Regions from separate parts of the Homo sapiens genome. Here region 1 is linked to region 2. The links are contacts of gene promoters, found by promoter capture Hi-C in human tissues and cell types (Jung and others, 2019). All regions are on one chromosome and are shown on one strand. The core of a region is centred on a gene start or on the middle of the fragment in contact, and the rest is flanking DNA. Distances in the headings are between cores, read along the strand shown. Region 1 overlaps CTCF (CCCTC-binding factor). Region 2 holds the start of AGRP (agouti related neuropeptide).

Region 1 (6,505 bases), core at 3,817-6,316, 110 kb after region 2:
GCTGGCATGATCACAGCTTGCTGCAGCCTCAAAATTCTGGGCACAAGCAATCCTCTTGCCTCGGCCTCCTGCAGTGCTGGAATGGTAGGCGTGAGCCACCCTGCCCAGCCAATAATTTTCTTGATTGTTGTCGAAGACATTATATTGCTATTTATTATTACCACATTGCTATTTGGTACAAGTATCCATTGTTGTTATTTAAACTGTTAGCTTCTGATTTAATGTTAACTTTACAGGACAACCCCTTTACCAAATAAAAGTTGTCTTGGTTTTACTAAGTAGCCTTCATGAGGTGAGTCCTGGGTTACAGAGACATTTTTATTTATAAAAATAAAAACCATGACAGTTCACCCTATCATGTGTGCCCATTTCTGCAGGGTTTTTTTTTTTTCTTTTTCCCTTCTTTCATGCCTACAGATTGTCCTTACTACCTAGAGATTGTTAAATATTGGTTGTACCCAAAATAGAAGTGAAACTTCAAGGCTTACTCTGCTTGGCACAGTGGCTCACACCTGTGATACCAGCACTTAGGGAAGCAGAGGCAGGAGGATAGCTTGAGCCCAGGAGTTCAGGACCTGCCTGGGTGACATAGCAAGACCCCATTCTCCACAAAAAGGGGGAAAAAGACAAAAGACTCATTGAGTCATACATTCTGTTATTGCTTATGTGAGAATTATATTAGTTTTGAGATAGGCTTTGTAGTTTTTTTGTTGTTGTTTGTTTTGTTTTGTTTTGAGACAGAGTCACCCAGGCTGGGATGCAGTGGCGTAATCTTGGCTCACTTCAGCCTCTGCCTCCCAGGTCCAAGCAGTTCTCCTGACTGAGCCTCCTGAGTAGCTGGGATTTCAGGCGCCCACCACCACGCCTGGCTAATTTTTGCATTTTCAGTAGAGACGGGGTTTCACCATGTTGGACAGGCTGGTCTCGAACTCCTGACCTCAGGTGATTCACCTGCCTCGGTCTCCCAAAGTGCTGGGATTACAGGGATGAGCCACTGCGCCCAGCCAGGATCTATATTTTTTAAAGCTCACCAGAATAGGTTTGGGAATCATTGCTCAGGCAGCATCTGTCCAAAATTCATAAAAGTACCTGTTAGGTGTTGTGTAAATCCTGCATTATGTGTGTGTAGTTTATTCCTATTTTGTAATACATTTATTCAAGGTGATAGACTTGCTATAGATTCTCAGTCTTTCTCCTATTCCAAGTGATGAAAAGACTGTAGGGCTGCTCCAAAGACGGTCTAACTCTGAGCTGCTTCCAGGGATATGGGTCTGCAGTGTGGCAAGGAGGGATCTGGTGGTCTCTAACATAGTCTCTTATTAGGGGAACAGAAAGTGAAGCTTAGGTTACTCTACACCAGCAAAAGTGTCATTTGGGCTATGGAGAGCAGAGAGAGGACAGCATGTACTTGGGAGGCAGCCTCCTGTTGGTACTATGGCACCAATGTTGACTCACAGATGAGCATTATCTTTGTAAATGTTCAATAAGTGAAATAAACAGGCTACCCTTAACAGAGGGCTCTGAAACCACATCAAAATAATATATATTTTTTTGATACAGATTCTCACTCTGTACCCCAGACTAGAGTGCAGTGGCGTGAACTCAGCTCACTGCAACCTCCACCTCCTGGGTTCAAGCGATTCTCATGCATCAGCCTCCCAAGTAGCTGGGATTACAGGTGCACGCCACCACACCCGGCTAATTTTTGTATTTTTTTTTAGTAGAGACAGGGTTTCGCTATGTTGGCCAGGCTGGTCTCGAACTTCTAACCTCAAGTGATCCACCCGCCTTGGCCTCCCAACATGCTGGGATTACAGGCGTGAGCCACCGTGCCCAGCCTCAAAATAATAAATTTGAGGCCTGGGTGTAATGGCTCATGCCCATAATCCCAACATGTTGGGAGGCTGAGGCAGGAAGATTGTTTGAAGCCAGAAGCTCAAGACCAGCCGAGGCAACAAAGCAAGACCCCACCTCTACAAAATAATAATAATAAAATAGTAGGGTGCAGTGGTGCATGCCTGTAGTGTCCCAACTACCCAGGAGGCTGAGGCAAGAGAGGCACTTGATCCCAGGAGTTCAAGGCTGTGGCAAGCTACGATTACACTACTGCGCTCACTCCAGTCTGGGAGACAGAGCAAGACCGCACCTCTTAAAAAAGATAAATAATTATAATAATATTAATTTGAGATGGCTTAATACAGTTCCACTCAGTTACATTAAATTTCTTCTGCACAAAATTGGTCTAATTCCATACATATTTTTGTTATATACCGTTCACCTGTTCTGTAGTTTGTCAGGCAAGGTCCACCTCATCATTTGATATCCAGCTGTAGCAATTCCTTTCCTTAAAGCCCTTCACCCACTGAAGTCATCCTTTATGCCAGGGTGGTAGGAAGTATGTTAACCGTTGTTACAGTACTCATCACACTATATAGCTGCTATTTGTTTTTCTTTCTGCCTGCCAGACAAGGAGCTCCCTAAGAACTGAACCTCGTGCAGAAGACAAAGCTTATCTGGGAGTCAGCTTTAGCACAGTACTGATTGAAGACTACCCCTAGTACATATGCTTGTACTCTCTCTCCCTTCCCTGCCTCCAGCCCCAAATGACGCTTCAACACCTAATACCCGATTTCTTCCATTAACTTGAAAAAGAGCCTGGACGCGGTGGCTCACACCTGTAATACCGGCATTTGGGGAGACCAAGATGGCTGGATCACCTAAGGTCAGGAGTTTGAGACCAGCTTGGCCAACATGGTGAAACCCTATCTCTACTAAAAATACAAAAATTAGCCTGGCATGATGGTGGGCATTTGTAGTCCCAGCTACTCAGGAGGCTGAGACAGGAGAATCACTTGAACGCAGGAGGCGGCCGTTGCAGTGAGCCAAGATGGCGCCATTGCACTCCAGACTGGTCAACAAGAGCGAAACTCCGTCTCAAAAAAAGAAAAAGAACAGTTAGAACTTTTTTTTTTTTTTTTAAAGAAGAGAGTTCCTTTCTACAGCAGCGTCAGCCACCTTTTGGCGAAAGAATTATTGTCTAGCCTTTATTATTCTTTGTAGCAAAAGAACTCCTTCCCCTCCTCCCATACTAGTTTCACTGTTGCCATTACAAATATTTTATTAGTACGTATTTCCTAGATTCAAAGCTTCAGTGGGCTTTCTTCAAGTAGCTGTTAGAATAATTGTTTTGTTTTGACCATACCCTTTAATATTAACAAATGGGAGGGGAGATTGTTAACAAAATACTAGAATGCTCTTAACTTTTTTTTTAACTTAGAAGAAACATTTTCATTTCCCTTTTAATTATTTCTACACACACACATACAAAAAGCCCTGTTATTTTATAATTTTTTATTTTTATTTTTTTAGTAGAGACAGGGTTTCACTGTGTTAGCCAGGATGGTCTCGATCTCCTGACCTTGTGATCTGCCCACCTCGGCCTCCCAAAGTGCTGGGATTACAGGCGTGAGCCACCGTGCCCGGCCCTAACTGTTCTTTTAAAAATTGGCCGAGCACGGTGATCGGCCAGGTGTGATGGCTCACACCTGTAATCCTAGCACTTTGGGAGGCTGAGGAGGGTGGATCAGCTGAGGTCAGAAGCTCAAGCCCAGCGTGGCCAACATGGCGAAACCCTGTCTCTACTAAAAATACAAATATTAGCCGGACATGATGTTTGGTGCCTGTAATCAATCCCAGCTACTTGGGAGGCTGAGGCGGGAGAATCGCTTGAACCCGGGAGGTGGAGGTTGCAGTAAGCTGAGATGGCACCATTGCACTCCAGCCTGGATGACAGAGTGAGACTCTGTCTCAAAAAAAAAAAAAAAAAAAAAAATGCTGGACTGGGTGGCTCACACAAATGCTGTGATTACAGGCGTGAGCCACCGTAATCCCAGCACTTTGGGAGGCCGAGGCGGGCAGATCACTTGAGGTCAGGAGTTTGAGACTAGCCTAGCCAACATGATGAAACCCCATCTCTACGAAAAATACAAAAATTAGCTAGTCGTGGTGATGCGTGCCTGTAATCCCAGCTACTCAGGAGGCTGAGGCTGAGAATTGCTTGAACACAGGAGGCAGAGATTGCAGTGAGCCAAGATCTCACCACTGCACTCCAGCCTGGGTGACAGAGCGAGACTCTGTCTCAAAAAATAAATGAAAATTAATGTCAGAGAAGTGAGAGGTACAGTTGTGATTAAATAGATGAGTGCTTTTTCAGATAAAGGCTGCTTCCGTTCCCAGTCACTGTGAAAGAAATGGTCACTATTATTTTTCTGCTTCTCAGCCCAAGTTATTCTCCCAATTCAACTCCTCCTCATTCTTTATTGTAGTCTACAACTTTCCTGGTACTAGTTCACTGATACTTTGCTTTGATGTATTTTAAGCTCTCAGATAAGATGATGGCGTATATGTTTTCAGGAATAGCAGAGTAAAATGGTTATTTTGTTTAACTTTTAAACCTAGCTTTTACTCTAAAAGAGTTAATAACTTTTATTCGTTTTGGCTAGTGTCCTGCATCTAGTAAAAGTTACTTAGCTTTTCCTTTCATCCTCAGGAAAAACTGATTACTTTTTTTGGGGGGGGGCAGTAAGGGCACAGAGTCTTGCGCTGTCACTCAGACTGGAATGCAGTGGTGTGATGATAGCTTACTGCAGCCTGGGCTCAGGCGATCCTCCCGCCTCAGTCCCGAGTAGCTGGGACTACAGATGGATGCCATCATACCTAGCTAATTTTTTTTTTAATTTTTAATGGAGACAAGGTCTCACTATGTTGCTCAGGCTGGTCTTGAACTCCTGGGCTCAAACGATTCTCTTGGCTCTGCCTCCCCAAGTACTGGGATTATATGTGTGAGCCACTGTGCCCGACCTGATGACTTATAATTGCTTTTTTTCCCCTCCTTGTCCTAATGTCATTTAACATTCTGTATAGTGAGAATACCAGACTAAGCTTTTCAGTCAACATTTTTCTAATGTAAAGATCTATCGACTGGACGCAGTGGCTCACACCTGTAAACCCAGCACTTTGGGAGGATGAGGCGGGCACATCACCTGAGGTCAGGAGTTTGAGACCAGCCTGGCCAACATAGTGAAACCCTGTCTCTACTAAAAATACAAAAATTTGCTGGGCATAGTGGTGTACGCCTGTGATCCCAGCTGCTCAGGAGGCTGAGGCAGGAGAATTGCTTGAACCCTGGAGGCAGAGGTTGCAGTGGCCGGGATTGTGCCACTGCGCTCCAGCCTGGGTGGCAGAGCAAGAATCTGTCTAAAAAAATAAATAAGGCCAGGCACAGTGGCTCATGCCTGTAATCCCAGTAATTTAGGAGGCTGAGGTGGGAGGATCACCAGAGCTCAGAAGTTTGAGACCATCCTGACCAGTATGGTGAAACCCTGTCTCTACTAAAAATATAAAAATTAGCCGGCATGGTGGCATGCGCCTGTAGTCCCAGCCACTCGGGAGGCTGAGACATTAGAATTATTTGAGCCCAGGAGGCGGAAGTCGCAGTGAGCCAAGATCGTGCCACTGCACTGCAGCCTGGGTGACAGAGTGAGACTCCGTCTCAAAAACAACAACATCAAAAAAAGATACTTACAGAGGCCAGGCGTTGGTGACTGGCTCAACGTCAGTAATCTCAGCACTTTGGGAGGCCGAGGTGGGTGGATCACTTGAGCTCAGGAGTTTGAGACCAGCCTGGCCAACATGGTGAAACCCCGTCTCTACTAAAAATACAAAAATTAGCGGGGCACAGTGGCATGTGCCTGTAGTCCCAGCTACTTAGGAGGCTGAGGCAGGAGAATCGGTTGAACCTGGAGGCAGGGGTTGCAGTGAGCCGAGATCGCGCCACTGCATTCCAGCCTGGGTGACAGAGTGAAACTCCATCTGGAAAAAAAAAATTTATATATATATGTATAAATGTTTAATATATATTTTATATTTATATATTTGTATATCTTTTTTATATTTTAATATATGGTTTTTAATATATATTTTATACATATAAAGAGAAAGGTGCAAGGTATCTTCTGTTCTCTTAAAATTTTTTACAATTTCAACTTTTATTTTAGATTCGGGGGTACATGTCCAAGTTTTTTTGTGTACATGGGTATATTGTGTGATTATGAGGTTTGGGGGTACAATTGTTGCTCATCACCCAGGTAATGAGCATAGTACCCAATGATTAGTTTTGCAGCCCTTACCCCGTTTTCTCCCTCCCCCTCCTAATCCCTAAGGCCTATTGTTATGTTTATGTCCATGTGTACCCAGTGTGTAGCTTCCACTTGTAAGTGAGAACATGAGATACTTGGTTTTCTGTTCCTGCCTTAATTCGCTTAGGATAATGACCTCCAGCTGCATCTGTGTTGCTGTAAAGGACATTATTTCATTCTTTTTTATGGCTGTGCGTTCTCTGCCTTCTTATGATGTCTGAGGGTTCGTATCAACCTCTGTTAGGCCATTTGTTAGGTACCCTTCATGTTGACTTTCAGAATTTCTGTGGCTTGTGAAAGTTCATGGG
Region 2 (7,031 bases), core at 232-2,731:
TCTTGCTCAGGCCCACTCCCACCCTGCGTAGTGCTTTCTCGCTTTAACAAATCCCAGCTGTCTGCTTCCTTCCTGTGTGTCATTCGTTTGTTACTTTCTGGGTTTTGTTCAATTCTTTGTTCGAAACGCTAAGGACCTGAACAACGCACACTCCTGGCCTTCCCTCTGGTAACAGGATGAGGGGCAGGCTTTGCGTGGAAGTAGCAGCAAGCCCTGGAGCCTAAGGCTTATTTGTTAGCCAGGAGTGATAGCCCCTGTGCCACGCTGCGTCCTGCGTTCCCCGCACTTGCTGTACAAGATTTTCGAAAGCTGGAGTGCGGCTCTTCTCTATTTTTCCCAGGGGCACCAGGACCCCTAAAAGCGCCCGTGTATGTGCCTCCTATGATAGGGTAGCCCAGGCCCTGGGATAAGAGTATGTGTGGTTTCTTGGCTTGGTGACACTCCCACCCCCTCCATGAACCCTCCCTCCTTTGACGGCCACGTTTGAAATAACCACAGCCTTGGGGTTGGTCCCATCCTTTATTCGAGTTTCCTTGCCCCTACCCTAGCCCCGACCCTGACGTTGGCCAGCTAGGTGCGGCTGCAGGGATTCATGGCAGTACCCAGCTTGCGGCAGTAGCAGAAGGCATTGAAGAAGCGGCAGTAGCACGTGGCACATGGGTCACAGCAAGGCACCTGCTGTCCCAGGCAGGACTCATGCAGCCTTACGCAGCGACGTGAGGAGCGGGGCTCGCGGTCCTGCAGGTCTAGTACCTGCAGGGGTGGGGAACCAGCACAGGCCTCTAAAGACAGATCCAGGGATCTTACCTGTCCCAACCTGTGCAGGATGGCAGTGGAGCATGGGAAGGGGTGGTCGGTAGTGTCGTCGCTGGTGAGGGAGTTTGGAGCTGGGGAGAGGAGCTAATACCCAATGCCCCCTCCCAAGGGCCACCACCTTACCCTTTTCCCTGAGCAGTTACCTCTGCCAAGGCCTGAGCCTCCTGCAACAGATCCTCTTCTGCCTGTTCTGCAGTTGTCTTCTTCAGTGGGGCCCGCAGGCCCAGGCCTGGGGCAGAGGATGTGAGGGCAGGAACCCCCATGCACAAAGCACCCACCTCCCAGGGGAGGGTTTGGGAAGGGAGAAAGAGGGTTTATGCCAGGGGAGACTATTTGTGGCCAGAGGGTATTCAGGCCCCGCCCAGTCCCACCCTTGCTCACACTGACCTGGGAGCTCTGGGAGCAGGGCCTGGTCAGGCCTTCTGATGCCCTCCATGGGGGCCAAGCCCATCTGGGCTCCTCGCGTGGCAGGCAGTGCCAGCAGCAGGGCACAGCTCAGCACCGCTGCGGTCAGCATGGCCTGGCTCAGCAGGAAGATGTACCACTTAGTCCCTCCTTATCCTTGGAGTCCCCTCTAGGTGCCCAGATAGAGACCCCACAGAGAGGAGGAGTCCCTGCCCAACCTGAGGACTCACCTCTGCCTCCGGGATTCTTGCCTAGAGAGTTCCCGGCCACCCCGTGCCCTTGGCTTATATGGCAGGGCCTAATGAAGGGCCACACGTGACTGATCCCTGCAGCCAGGCCGTGAAGGACCCTTCCTGGAGGGTGGGGGCACAGTTCAGGCCCTCACTCCCTGAACCTGAGCCTTTTGTTCTACAAGAGGAGTGCCTATCTCCAATTTGGGGTGAGGTTTCCAGGAGCCGATTAAAATTTGGGAGCAAGAGAGGGTGCCCAGGGTCCACAAATTTCCACAGGACAGGGACCTAGGAGCTGAGCAGGGCTAGAACCATTAGCAATAACAAGGCAGGCGGCCCTGAAAGCTTAATTTAATTTGTGGCCCCAGAGATGCTTACTCAACCCCTATGTGGCATGTTGTTTCCTGTGCTTCCAAGAATTCGGGTCAAGGACATTGGAGCGGGTGATGGGCCAATGGCCACTGTTGGGCAGGGGTAGGTGCAGAACCAGAACCTGGGTTTCTTTGGAGGGAAAGGGGAAGGAAAAGCCCACCTAACCAATCCTAGGCCCTCCTGACTACATTTCTGGTCCTCCCCTCCCTTTCTCCCTCCAGGTTTCTCCAAGACCGCCCACTCCTGCTCCTGTCCCCAAACCCCTTTCTGCCTAGGGTTCCTGGAAGCCAAGGAAACAGAACGAACTGTTCCCTGGGTGGGCGAGCCACTGCAGAGTACAAAGCTTTCAGGCCGCCTGCCTCATTAGCACTAATGGCTGCTCCCTTCCGCCCTGTGTCGTCAGGACTGTCTATGCCTGGTCTCATCAGCACAAGGCTGGGGTAAGGACTGCCCTTTTGTGGAGATGGCAGGACATACAGGACCCTGCTGCCCCTGCCTTCCCTCACCCCACTGCAGAGCTGTTTATCACACACGTGTCCATCTGGGAAAGGAATGCAGGCTGAATCAGCTTTGAGAGGATCGCAAGGCCCCAGTGCACAAACTGGGTTGGCACAAGGCAGTGGAAAAAAGATGAAGGGGGCCAGGTATGGTGGCTCACACCTGTAATTCCAGCATTTTGAGAGGCCAAGGTGGGAGGATCACAAGGCCAGGGGTTTAAGACCAGCCTGGGTATCATGGTGAGACCCCGTTGCTACAAAAAATAAAAAAATAGCTGGGTGTAGTGGTGCATGCCTGTAGTAGAGGCTGAGGTGGGAGGATGGCTTGAGCACAGGGATTCAAGAGTGCAGTGAGCTATGACTGCATCACCACACTCCAGGCTGAGCGACAGAGCAAGATCCTGTCTCAAAAAGAAAAGAAGATAAAGGGTGGCCAGGCACGGTGGCTCACGCCTGTAATCCCAGCATTTTGGGAGGCCAAGGTGGGCGGATCACTGGAGGTCAGGAGTTCAAACCAGCTTGGCCAATATGGTGAAACCCTATCTCTACTAAAAATACAAAAGTTATTCAGGCATGGTGGCACATGCCTGTAATCCCACCTACCCGGGAGGCTGAGGCAGGAGAATCACTTGTAACACGGGAGGCAGAGACTGCAGTGAGCAGAGATCGCACCACTGCACTCCAACCTGGGTGACAGAGTGAGACTCCATCTTAAAAAAAAAATGCTATTTAAAATGAAATGAAGCAATCCATACTCCCAACATTTATATATACTGGGACATCCAAGAAATTAAAATCACACCTCATTATGTCTTTTTCTTTGAGTCAGGGTCTCACTCTGTCACCCAGGCTGGGCCTGGTCAGCACCCATGCTATGGAGAGCTCTTCATGGTCTGGTGTGGACAGAGTGGGAGTGGAAGATCTCCTCCCACACAGGTGCTCAGTGTCTTACCTCACCTACGGGCAGCAGCTGTCTTCACCTGAGTGTGTGCACACAGGTGTATCAGCCCCATGGGCAGTGATGGACGAGGGCTGAGGCACTCACAGGGCAGCCCATGCCCCGGTCAGGTCCAGTGGGGGAGATATCAAGAAAACCCAGCGCCAAAATGCAATGAGCTGTGATCGCGCTACTGCACTCCAGCCTGGGCGACAAAGCAAGTTGCCGTCTCAAAAAACAAAAACAAAACTAAACAAAAAAAAAAAAACGGCCAGGTGTAGTGATTCACACCTTCTTGAGCCCAGGAGTGGCAACATAGTGAGACTCTGTCTCTACCAAAAAAAAAAAATTTAATTAGCTGAATGTGGTGATGCACACCTGTAGTCCCAGCTACTCAGGAGACAGGGAGGAGGATAGCTTCGGCCCAGGAGATTGAGGCTGCAGTGAGCCATGGTGGTGGTGGCTCACGCCTATAATCCCAGCACTTTGGGAGGCTGAGGCAGGCAGATCACTTGAGCCTAGGAATTCGAGGCCAGCCTGGGCAACATGGCGAAACCCAGTCCCCATTAAAAAAAAAAAAAAAAAAGGCCAGGTGCGGTGGCTCACGCCTGTAATCCCAGCACTTTGGGAGGCCGAGGTGGGCAGATCACAAGGTCAGGAGATGGAGACTATCCTGCCTAGCACAGCAAAACCCCATCTCTACTAAAAATACAAAAAAAAAAAAAATTTAGCCGGGCGTCATAGCGGGCACCTGTAATCACAGCTACTTGGGAGGCTGAGGCAGGAGAATGGTGTGAACCCAGGAGGCAGAGCTTGCGGTGAGCCGAGATCGCGCCACTGCACTCCAGCCTGGGTGACTGAGCGAGACTCTCTCAAAAAAAAAAAAAAAAGTTTCACAGCCGGATGCAGTGGCTCACGCCTGTAATCCCAGCATTTTGGGAGGCCAAGGTGGGCAGATCATGAGGTCAGGAGTTCAAGACCAGCCTGGCCAACATGGTGAAGCCCCATCTCTACTAAAAATACAAAAATTAGCTGGGCATGGTGGCACGCACCTATGATCCTAGATACTTGGGAGGCTGAGGCAGGAGATTTACTTGAACTGGGACCCAGGAGGCGGAGGTTGCAGTTAGCTGAGATCGTGCCACTGCACTCCAGCCTGGTAACACTCCAGCCTGGTAACAGAGTGAGACTCCATCTCAAAAAAAAAAAAGTTTCACTATGTGGGTAATTTTACGGTAAGGAACCAGCCTGATATTCCCAGGACAATGCTTGTTGGCAAAAGGACCTTCAGAAATATGTGGCATGTTCTGGGAGGAGGATTTGGGAAACCCTGGGGGAGGCAGAGCCTCCTAAGTGAGGGTGTGGGCCCGGAACACAGGGACTCTGTGCAGGGAGGAGAAAGGGGAGAGTGTGCATGCTCGTTCCAGAGACCACATGAGGACAGAGAGGGGTGCTCAAACCCTCTCCCTTCTCTTCTTTTTCCTCCTGCAGTGTACTCCCCTTCAAGGGCCCTGTTCCCACCTTGTCCAGGGGAGAGGGTGGGGGGTGCAGGGAAAAACTGCAAGCACCCGTGGCTCTGTCAATCAGGGTTGATTTTGAAACCCCTACCCAGCCCATTGCCCCTGCCCCAGAGAGCACAGCCATGTGTTTCCTGTGAATCATCTGTAGGATTTCCTAAGGCAGAGGTTGCCTGGAGAGGCACGGTCTCCTCAGTCATTCAGGGAGAGGAGAAGATGGATGGGGGTTCTCTCGGGCTGGTGTATTGAGCCCTGAGCTAGAGAGGATCTGTGATTGTTAATTTTGTGTGTCAACTTGACTGGGCCAGGAATGCCCAGATATCTGGTTAAATATTATTTCTAGGTGTGCCTGTGAGGGTGTTTCCAGAATCATCCAATCCTTTGAGGGTTGGAATAAAACAAAAAGATAGAGAAAGTTGGTGCCGTGGCTCATGCCTGTAATCCCACCACTTTGGGAAGCCGAGGTGGGAGACTGTCTTGAGCCCAGGAGTTTGAGACCAGCCTGGGTAACATACAGAGACCCAATCTCTACAAAAAAATTTAAAAATAGCCAGACACAGTGGTGCACATCAGTGGTCCCAGTGACTCCAGAGGCTGAGGTGGGGAGGATCGCTTGATCCCAGGAGGTTAAAGCTGTAGTGAGCCATGATCACACTACTGCATTCCAGCTTATGCACATGAGACCTTGTCTTAAAAAAATAAAAAATTTTAAAAAAGAAAGAAAACTGGAAACAATCCAAATATCCATCAACAGCAAAATGGATAATAACATTATAGTGATATAATTGGGCCAGGCACAGTGGCTCACACCTGTAATCCTGGCACTTTGGAAGGCCGAGACGAGTGGATCACTTGAGCTCAGGAGTTCCAGACCAGCCTGAGCAACATGACAAAACCCTGTCTCTTCAAAAATTACAAAAATTAGCTAGACATGGTGGCGCAAGCCTGTAGTCCCAGCTTCTCGAGAGGCTGAGGTGGGAGGATCACTTGAATCCAGGAGGCAGAGGTTGCAGTGAACCAAGATTGCACCACTGCACTCCAGCATGGGTGACAGAGTGAGACCCTATCTCAAACAAACAAACAAAAGTATGTTTATATAATTGACAACTATACAGCAATGACAAGAGAATAAACTACTGCTACACACTGCAACATGAATGAATTGCACAGACATAAGGTTGAATGAAAGAAGCATGCTGCAGAAGAGTGAGGATGGAATGAATCCAGCCCTATGACATTCAGACCCAAGCAAAATTATAATAAATGGTGATAAAACACAACAGCGGTTAACTCTGGGAGGGTGGGAAATTATTGACTGAGGGGGGAAATGAGGAAAACATGTGAGGTGTTGGAAAGGTTTTGTATCTTGATCTCAGTGGTGGTCACGCAGGTATATAAGTATGTAAAATTTCATCAAGCTGCACATTTAAGACTTGTGTATTTTGCCAAGTGCAGTGGCTCACACCTGTAATCCCAGCACTTTGGGAGGCCAAAGTGGGCAGATCACCTGAGATCAGGAGTTCGAGACCAGCCTGGCCAATATGGCAAAACCTCGTCTCCACTAAAAATAAAAAATTAGCCAGATGTGGTGGTGTGTGCCTGTAGTCCCAGCTACTCAGGAGGTTCAGGCAGGAGAATCACTTGAACCCAGGAGGCGGAGGTTGCAGTCAGCCAAGATTGTGCCACTGCACTCCAGCCTGGGTGACAGAGTAAGACTCCATCTCAAAATATATATATATATTGTATTTTTTATTGGATATTATGTCTCAATGAAAACATTTTTTCTTTTCCTTTATTAGTGGCTCAAAAAATAATGGAGTGTCTGGCTGGACGCTGTGGCTCCCGCCTGTAATCCCAGCACTTTGGGAGGCCGAGGCGGGTGGATCACAAGGTCAGGTCAGGAGTTCGAGACCAGCCTGACCAACATGGTGAAACTCCATCTCTACTAAAAATACAAAAATTAGCCAGGCACGGTGGCACGTGCCTGTAATTCCAGCTACTCAGGAGGCTGAGGCAGGAGAATTGCTTGAACCCTGGAGGCGGAGGGTTGCGGTGAGCCGAGATTGCATCACTGCACTCCAGCCTGGGTGACAGAGCGAGACTCCGTCTCAAAAAAAAAAAAGAAAAAGAAAGAAAGAAACTTCCCTCATCTCTGTAGCTATTTGTGTAACTTCCCCTATCTGTGTAACTACTGTTAACTGTGCAGCTGTGGGCATGTCTTTAGGAAAGCATATGTAGCTTCTCTTGTCTCTGTAGT

The links. The method cuts DNA at HindIII sites, captures the fragments that hold promoters and counts their contacts. A contact is called where the count stands out against the background at its distance.
Region 1: a contact is called between a fragment that was not itself captured here and the fragment with the promoter of AGRP in region 2, in 2 of the 25 tissues and cell types used here (bladder and spleen).

What each region holds. Positions count from the first base shown.
Region 1 is chr16:67,587,152-67,593,656 of GRCh38, forward strand. The region is part of intron 2 of CTCF (CCCTC-binding factor); the gene reads left to right. Among named protein-coding and RNA genes, the nearest start is that of CTCF, 28 kb to the left of the region's middle. The HindIII fragment of the contact is 6,285 bases long and covers 1,925-6,505 here.
Region 2 is chr16:67,482,066-67,489,096 of GRCh38, forward strand. AGRP (agouti related neuropeptide) reads right to left here and starts at 1,482. Exons shown (of 4, transcript NM_001138.2): 1 at 1,452-1,482; 2 at 1,204-1,336; 3 at 960-1,045; 4 at 506-753. The coding sequence starts at 1,333. The coding sequence ends at 571. ATP6V0D1-DT (ATP6V0D1 divergent transcript) reads left to right here. Exons shown (of 4, transcript NR_184227.1): 2 at 2,045-2,263. RefSeq lists an enhancer at 6,655-6,734. The HindIII fragment of the contact is 1,388 bases long and covers 594-1,981 here.